Regions from separate parts of the Homo sapiens genome. Here region 2 is linked to region 1. Evidence: promoter capture Hi-C in 16 types of primary human blood cells and fetal thymus (Javierre and others, 2016). All regions are on one chromosome and are shown on one strand. Each heading gives the region's core, a stretch centred on a gene start or on the middle of the fragment in contact. The rest is flanking DNA. Distances are from core to core; before and after follow the strand shown. Region 1 holds the start of TOP1 (DNA topoisomerase I). Region 2 overlaps ZHX3 (zinc fingers and homeoboxes 3).

Evidence for each region. Contacts are between HindIII fragments. The CHiCAGO score rates a contact against its expected background, and 5 or more counts as called.
Region 2: a contact is called between a fragment that was not itself captured here and the fragment with the promoter of TOP1 in region 1, in 1 of 17 cell types (naive CD8 T cells). The highest score is 5.2, in naive CD8 T cells.

Annotation. Positions count from the first base shown.
Region 1 is chr20:41,026,886-41,030,672 of GRCh38, reverse strand. TOP1 (DNA topoisomerase I) reads right to left here and starts at 1,851. Exons shown (of 21, transcript NM_003286.4): 1 at 1,573-1,851; 2 at 1,218-1,242. The coding sequence starts at 1,605. RefSeq lists silencers at 1,511-1,580, 1,801-2,152. The HindIII fragment of the contact is 6,355 bases long and covers 1-2,800 here.
Region 2 is chr20:41,290,926-41,294,712 of GRCh38, reverse strand. The region is part of intron 1 of ZHX3 (zinc fingers and homeoboxes 3); the gene reads left to right. Among named protein-coding and RNA genes, the nearest start is that of ZHX3, 25 kb to the left of the region's middle. The HindIII fragment of the contact is 1,045 bases long and covers 1,512-2,556 here.

The DNA.
Region 1 (3,787 bases), core at 602-3,101:
TCAAAATCAGTGGGAATTCCCAGCACACTACAGAAGGTAACTTCTCCTTCAACAGGGTTGTTCGAAAGCCTGCAAGGATGAGCTTTTTATTGGAGGACTCTTCCCTGGGTAACTGAAGTGGAAATACAGTAAGAATAAATGCCTTGATTTGGCTGAAAAGGGTTCAAAAACATAAAGAATTGGGAAAAAAAAAAAAAGCCAGTTCTTGATTCCTGAAAAACAGTGGCTCGTGAAAAAGAATGAACAGGAAGCAGGGGTGGGTACTGGACACTCTTTGCTTCAATAAATAAAATCTTTTTTTCCTCCTTACAACCCAAACGAAAAGGCCAACACACCAGGTCCACAAGAGATGCTCAACAATCTTTCCTTCCAACAAGTACACTAAACTGCGTTTCCAGAAAAACACTGCATTGGGAACCTCGACCACAATGAAAAGTTCCAGTGACTAACATAATTTTTTAAAAATCCAACATTTACATTGGGTGACCCACAGAGAACTTGCAAACTTTCTTTAGGGAGGTACTGCTACCTTTGCAAAGAACGTAACTTGGGAAAAACAACCTGGAAATATAAAGAACTCCACAAAGCGTGGCTTTAGTTTTAGAGCCATAATTCCTATCATAAACAGCCTATCAAAAAAAAAATTAACAGTTGCTTAAGGAAATCTTTCATTCTGGAAGCAGAAAAGGAAACAAACATGAAGCATAAAGGGAATAACCCCCAAAATAAAGTTTAAAAAATAATAATTCAGTCCCCCAGCCTTCCCTCTCTGGTGAAGTATGTGATTTATACGGCTTTGCTCTGCAGAAAGCTCATTCTGGGCAGCTCAAGGAAAGAGCCGAGGGAGGGAGAGAAAGAGACACAGGCACAGAAAGGAGAGGAGAGAGAAAAAGAAAATGGCGCAGAGACTAAGTCCCGACCGTCGACAAGGCGACTTTCCCGGGAGGAATCCCGGCCCGGAAAGACCGCCCGAGGCCCGGTGGCGGACGACACGGGGTCTCCGTTGTCCCCTCTTGGGAGGGCCGGGATCTGGAGGAGCTGGGGTCCCCGGAAAGGGGGTCAAGAGGCGGCCCGATGGGAACAATGGGGCCGGTGAGCGAGGAGCCGGGACTTAGTCTCTGGGACGCCATGTCTGTCCTCTGCCCGGCACCGGCAGGGCGCGGGGGAGGCGGCCGGCGGCTGGGGGGCCCCGGAGTCGGCGCAGGGGGCACACTCACCATTCAATCGGAAATCCGCTTCGATCTGGAAAAAGAAAAGGAGAGAATATCAAACAACAGCCACTTTAACCCCTCCGGCGGCGAGCGCGCGCGGCCGGGGTCTGGCTCACCCTGCGCCCCCGGGGAGGACGGGGACCCGGGGGTGGCCACAGAGGGCAGCCATCCCTGCCTCGAACTGTAACTTCGCGGCCCTCGCTCGCGGCCTAGCGAGCCGATCTACTCCGGCAGGCGGCCCCTCACCGGGGGCTCCGGCCTGTCAAAGCTGCCGGGCCGGGGCTGGGGTCGGGGCCTGCGCCGGGGGTCGCGGGACGGCCAGGCCGGGGTCCGGGGCCGCCAGGGTCAGGCCGGGCCGTACCTGGGAATCGTTGTGGAGGTGGTCCCCACTCATGTCGGCCCGGAGGGACGAGCGCGGCGGCAGGCGAGGCGGCGTGGGGGAGACGCAGACGGCGAACCGGCCTGTGCGGGCGGACGGGGACTCCGGAGGCTCGAGGAGGCGCAGGTAAGCGGCGGTGACTGTGGGCCCGAGACTCCAGAAACGGCTGAGGCTGCTACCACGGCGGCGACGCTGCCTGACTGCCGGGCGGGCGGCGAGAACAGACCCCAGCAGTTGTGTAACAGCCTAAGTTCGCATTTGGGCTCACTGCGCCTGCGCGGCCGCTTTTAAACAACACGTCGGCGACGTCAGCGCTCGCGGAAAGAGGCAGAGGGTTGCGGCCCGCCCCCTCGCTGTTCGCCAGACGGACCTGTCTTTGCATCGCAAGCCCCGCCTCCGGACCGTGCGCGCTCCGCTGTGATTTGCATAAGGAGCCGACTCCTCCCACGGCGTCCCACCCCAAGCAGCCTCCCCTTCCTCTCCAGACGCTTTTTCTCGGAACCCCAGCCCCTCTGCTAGGCAGTGCGCAGGCGCCACCCGGGCACCGCCTCCGGACCAGGGCTGGCCGCGCAGCCACGTGGTGGGCCTTTAAAGGCCGCGGCGGGACCCAGCAATCTTGGGCAGAGCTGGTATCCGGCGTCCGCATCTCCTTGGAGCGGCGAGTACCTTGGCAGCTGGGACCCCAGAGGTCTCCCCAGCGCCTCCTTTCTTGCTAAGCCGACCCTGAGGCCGCCTGGTGGGAGGAGTCCCCTCCCCAGCCTTTGTCCAGGCCCTCCAACTTCTGGATTATTTCACGCCCACTTTTTAAAAATTATTTTAATTTTTCAACCAACCAAGGGTCCGGTTTAACCCCAGTTTTCCGCCGAGTACATGTAGCCCTGGGTCACCAAGGGTCTGATTTCTTTGGTTCATTCTACAAATACTTATTGAGCATCCGCTATGAGCCCAGGAATTGTGCTGAGGGAAGGGGGAATGCAAGAGACCAAAGGGAACTGAACCTGTCTCTATCCGCCCCTGTATCCCTGGCATGCTGGGAGGACGGGGCAAATGGGGAATAGAACTACCGTTTATAGAGCATCTATTCTGTGCCCAGCTCTGAATTCTCACAATAGCTCTGTGAGGTCGCCTGTATTACAAAAGTCAAACTGTCCTAAAGACAAGGGACCAACAGCCAGCTACCTTGCATCTATAGTTGGATACCTCTCAAGCTTCTCTGGGAATGAACTGAACTCCACTCAGCTAGAAAAAGCCCCATCCTGACACCTTCCTTTCCCTCATTTCCCACTAGTCCCGCTGATTGCATCTCTTTGCTTCATCTACTTCTCTCTGCTGCCCATAAGCCTTTGAAGTCTGCGTTCTCCTGCTTGGATTAATACAATGTGCTGGCTGGGGGTGGTGTCTCACACTTGTAATCTTAGCACTTTGGGAGGCCGAGGCTGGCAGATCACTTGAACCCAGGAGTTCAAGACCAGCCTGGGCAACATGGCAGAACCCTGACTCTACAAAAAAATACAAAAACTGGCGGGGTGTGGTGGCATGTGCCTGTAGTCCCGGCTACTCGGGAGGCTGAGGTGGGAGGATCACCTGAGCCCGAGGAGGAGGTCGAGGCTGCACTGCACTCCAGCCTGGGCAACAGAGTGAGACCTGGTTTAAAAAAAACAAAAAACAAACCAACAAAAAACACCGCACTCCAAAACACTACACTTCTAACAGGGATTGCTGCTTCCATTCTTGGCCCTCTCGTAAACTGCATTCCAACAATTGCCAAAGTGATCTTCTCAATATGCTAATCTAACCATTACTCCTTTGTGGATATTGCCACATCTATTACCACTTTCACTATTATTATTTCATATTTTAATTGATCTCCTTTTTATTTACCTTCATCCTAAGTGTTATCTGTGAAATAATATCTATGAAATCATTTGGAAGTAAATATGAAAACTGTTCATCCAGTGGACCATCAGTATCTTTATCACATCTAATGTTTACCATCACATGTTTACCATTAGATGTGTTTACCACATCTTGTGAATGCTTCAAGATCAACCTAAATATCACTTTTTCAAAGTGACTCTCCGGCGCACTACTGACCCTGCTTCCACTGGCTGACCAAGGGTGCCTTATAGGCCAGGCGCGGTGGCTAACGCCTGTAATCACAGCACTTTGGGAGGTCAATGTGGATCAATCACTTGAG
Region 2 (3,787 bases), core at 785-3,284, 260 kb before region 1:
TAAATAATGTGGATTTTTATTAAATCTTAGGTTTTAAAAACTATTGCTAAGGCTGGGCACAGTGGCTCATGCCTGTAATCCCAGCACTTTGGGAGGCTGAGGTGGATGGATCACTTGAGGTCAGGAGTTCGAGACTAGCCTGGCCAACATGTTGAAACTCCATCTCTACTAAAAATACAAAAATTACCCAGGTGTGGTGGGGGGGTGCCTGTAATCCCAGCTACTCGGGAGGCTGAGGCAGGAGAATCACTTGAACTCAGGAGGCAGGGGTTGCAGTTAGCCGAGATCATATCGCTGTACTTCAGCCTGGGAGACAGAGTGGGACTCCATCTCAAAACAGCAACAACAACAAACTATTACTAAATGAGAACTTAGACATCATTTACTCATAAGTTTAAGGTATGACATCATTTACATACAAAATTTAGCTGTTAATTCTAAATTGTTAAGTTTTAAAAATTTTGTTGTCAGCTAAATTGAATGTAGCATAATTCTAAACAAATCTTGGATTAATGTCATTGACCCCAAGCATCCTCTAGCCCTGGAATATTAGCATTGGCCTGTTAGTCCCCTGAGCTACTACTCCCTGGGAGGTGGTCATCCTTTCTTAACTCATTCTTTCCAGCCCTGGGGAGCCTCGGAACTTTTGTCTATTCACTTCTTTACAAAGCTGTAGCCTTCTGGCCAGAAGGGGCTTCCTTGAATGGTGCCCATGTCCTTCCACTTGCCTTTGATTGTCTGGAGTTGTGCTTTCTGGAAAAACAGGCAGGTTTCTTCCATTAGGCAAGAAACATCAGAAAATTAGAGATCTGTTCTGGTTTTCACTCTCTGTATCCTTAGCTCCTGGCATGGTGCCTGGCACATAGCAGATGCTCAAAAACACATTTGTAGAATGAAATGTCTTGAGACAATCTTTCAGATGTGTGAATATGACCATGATGTCCCCACATTGTCACCTCTTCTTCAGGTTTAAGATCCTTCAGTTCAGCCATTCTTTTCGATAGAATTTCCAGATCCCTTTCCCTCCTTGTTTCTCACCAAACTGTGTGACCACAGTTCACTGTCAGTCACTTAGAATGTGTGACCAGACTTATAGCTAGTTCTCTAGAAGTGGTCTGATTTGTAGCAGTATACTCAAGTGTGCCTTACTTTTTTTTTTCTTTAGCAAATCTCTGGTTGTTTATATTCTTTTACGTGATCAGCTGTCAAGCCTGGTCTCTTCCAAGAGGTGCTTTTGCAATTGTTTCCTTCTAGTTTAGTGTTACTTGGGATTTGATGAGGGTTCTTCAATATCCTTATGTGACTCATCAGTAAAAATGAGGAACAGGAGGGGCCCAAGGAAGAGTTTTGTGGAAACCTCCTTCCAAACTGACAATAATCCTCTAAATCCATGCTTTTCAAACTGTGATGTGCATACAAATTACCTGGGAATTTGGTTAAAATGCAGATTCTGATTCAGAAAGTCTGGGTGAGGCAGAGCTTCTGCCTTTGTAACAAGTTTTCTCTAAGCTTGTGCTGATGTTGTGGGTCTCCCTGATCATCTTTTGAGTAGCAGGGCACAGTTCTTGGGGAAAGTTGTTCATGAAAGCAAATCCTTTGGTATTTGGGTAGCTGTGCTGTACCCATCAGAGCCCCCAGCAGATACTATCTGATGCCGGTATTTGACACCCTATAATCAAACGTGCGTCTCCCATCTCACTAGGTAGATGAAGAAAACAACAGCAGGGCTGTCTTGCCAGCTTCCAAATGGTGGCACACCTCTGTGTATGTTCAATTGGACCTTTTATTCTAGCCAGACAAGCTGTTACCCAACATACTTAGTATCTTTTCAAGTTTCTTGTCATCTGGACATCTGATAAAGTGGTTGTGTATACTGTTTTTTTGAGTTATTAATCTGAGATACTCTCACATACCAGAAAGTTACAGAAAAGAGACAGTCAACAGTTTTTTAAGCATTGGCTAGAAAGTACAGTGTTACTGATAAAATTCTTTTATAAGAAATGTTATGGAGCATCCAATTTTTTTCTTACTCTATTGGAATTTGGATAAAATGGATGCACTGTTGAAATTACATTCCTAAACTGAAAGGTACTCATGCAAAGGGCAGCTTTTGAATCGTAGATGAGCAAGTGAGTTCTGTAGAAACACAGAGTAGAGAGTTCGTGATCACCTGAACTCCCTTTTCTCCAAGTTTTTAATCTTTTAGCTTAGGGGAGAGGTGCTTTTCTCTTGCCCTTTGTACATGGCAAACAGCACTGTGACCCATACTTTTTTGGTCATTTCAAAAAAAAATTACTATTAAGCATTGGTTAGAAAGTAAAGAAGTTTAGACAACAAAGCATTTGCACTTGTTTATTTTGTAGAGCTCATTGTGACCTGGTCAGTGGGACAGGACAGTTCTGTATACTGTTGATTAATATGTTCAGATAATTCTGGTTCCTAAATATTAGAGACAGTGTCTTCCTAATGTGTCACAAAAGTTGAATCCTGTAACTAGACATTAAATTCAAAAGTCCCAATCGGAGGATAAAGACAACAGCAAAAAACCCCAAAGCTTTGACACTGACAATTCAGCTGCTCTATTTTCATAAAAAATAAGCAATAATGCCAATATTCAATCCAGATTGAAAATGAAATGACTTGGATGTATTAATAGTAATTGAATTATAGAACTCTTTTTTTTTTTTTTTTTTTTTTTTAAAGATGAGGTCTTGCTGTGTTCCCCAGGCTGGTGTTGAACTCTCCTGGCTCAAGCGGTTCTCCAGCCTCAGCCTCCTAAATAGCTGGGATTACAGGTGCACGCCACCTTGCCAGGCTTGAATGATAGAACTTAAAAACAACTAGAGTGCCATTAACTTACCCCTAAATAACAATAGTTCTTTAATATCATCTAATACTCAGTCTATATTTAAATTTCCCTGATTGCTCAAAAATGCATTTTTTTTAGATTCATGCTTTACTTTTAATTGATGGCCCATACAAAAACTTTTGTAGGTTTTGAATATATACATATATAAACTTATATCTGTGTGTGTATACATATGCATACACAAACACGTGTGTCATACATGTATGTGTGTATACGTATACACACATATATTCCAAACCCACAAAATATATAGTATATATATATTCTTGTCCATCAATCTTTTATTTATGTAACCACAGCTTTCATATGGTACTTATGCTCTGTGCTTGCTGAATTATTAACAAAGAAGAGTGTAGTCATTTCTATCATAATTACTGCGTCTTCGTTAGAAGAGATTTAAAAAGTTGATGCAGCCACCCTTTCCAATCCTGTACTAACATGGTGTTAGCATCTTCTTAGAGATGCTGCCGTAATCCTAATTCTGCAACATTTGTGTCATTTTGAATTTGCCTTTCTCTGGCAGCATTTCTCATCTACTTCCACATATTTTTAAGATTTGTTGTGACTTCTGTTCTCTGATCTTCTCTTTCTATATGGATTACTGACCTTGAATTTATGCAGCTTCTCTTTCGGTTGTGGAAAGAACACTGCATGGGGGAAAAAGTCTGAGTTCACATCTCAGCTCCGTGTGGGGAAAAATGTCTGGATTCAAATCTCAGCTCCATCACTTACTAGCTGTATGACCTGAGGCAATGTATTTAACTTCCCCAATTACTTTGTAATTGAGCAACATATTTACTTCCCTTTCAGTGGGCTTCATCAAACAATACCACATATTGCTTAAAATATCCTAAAGCTCCCCAAAGTTGTAGGCAGGGAGGAAGCAAATTATTGGGTCACTGTTTATTGTCCCAAACT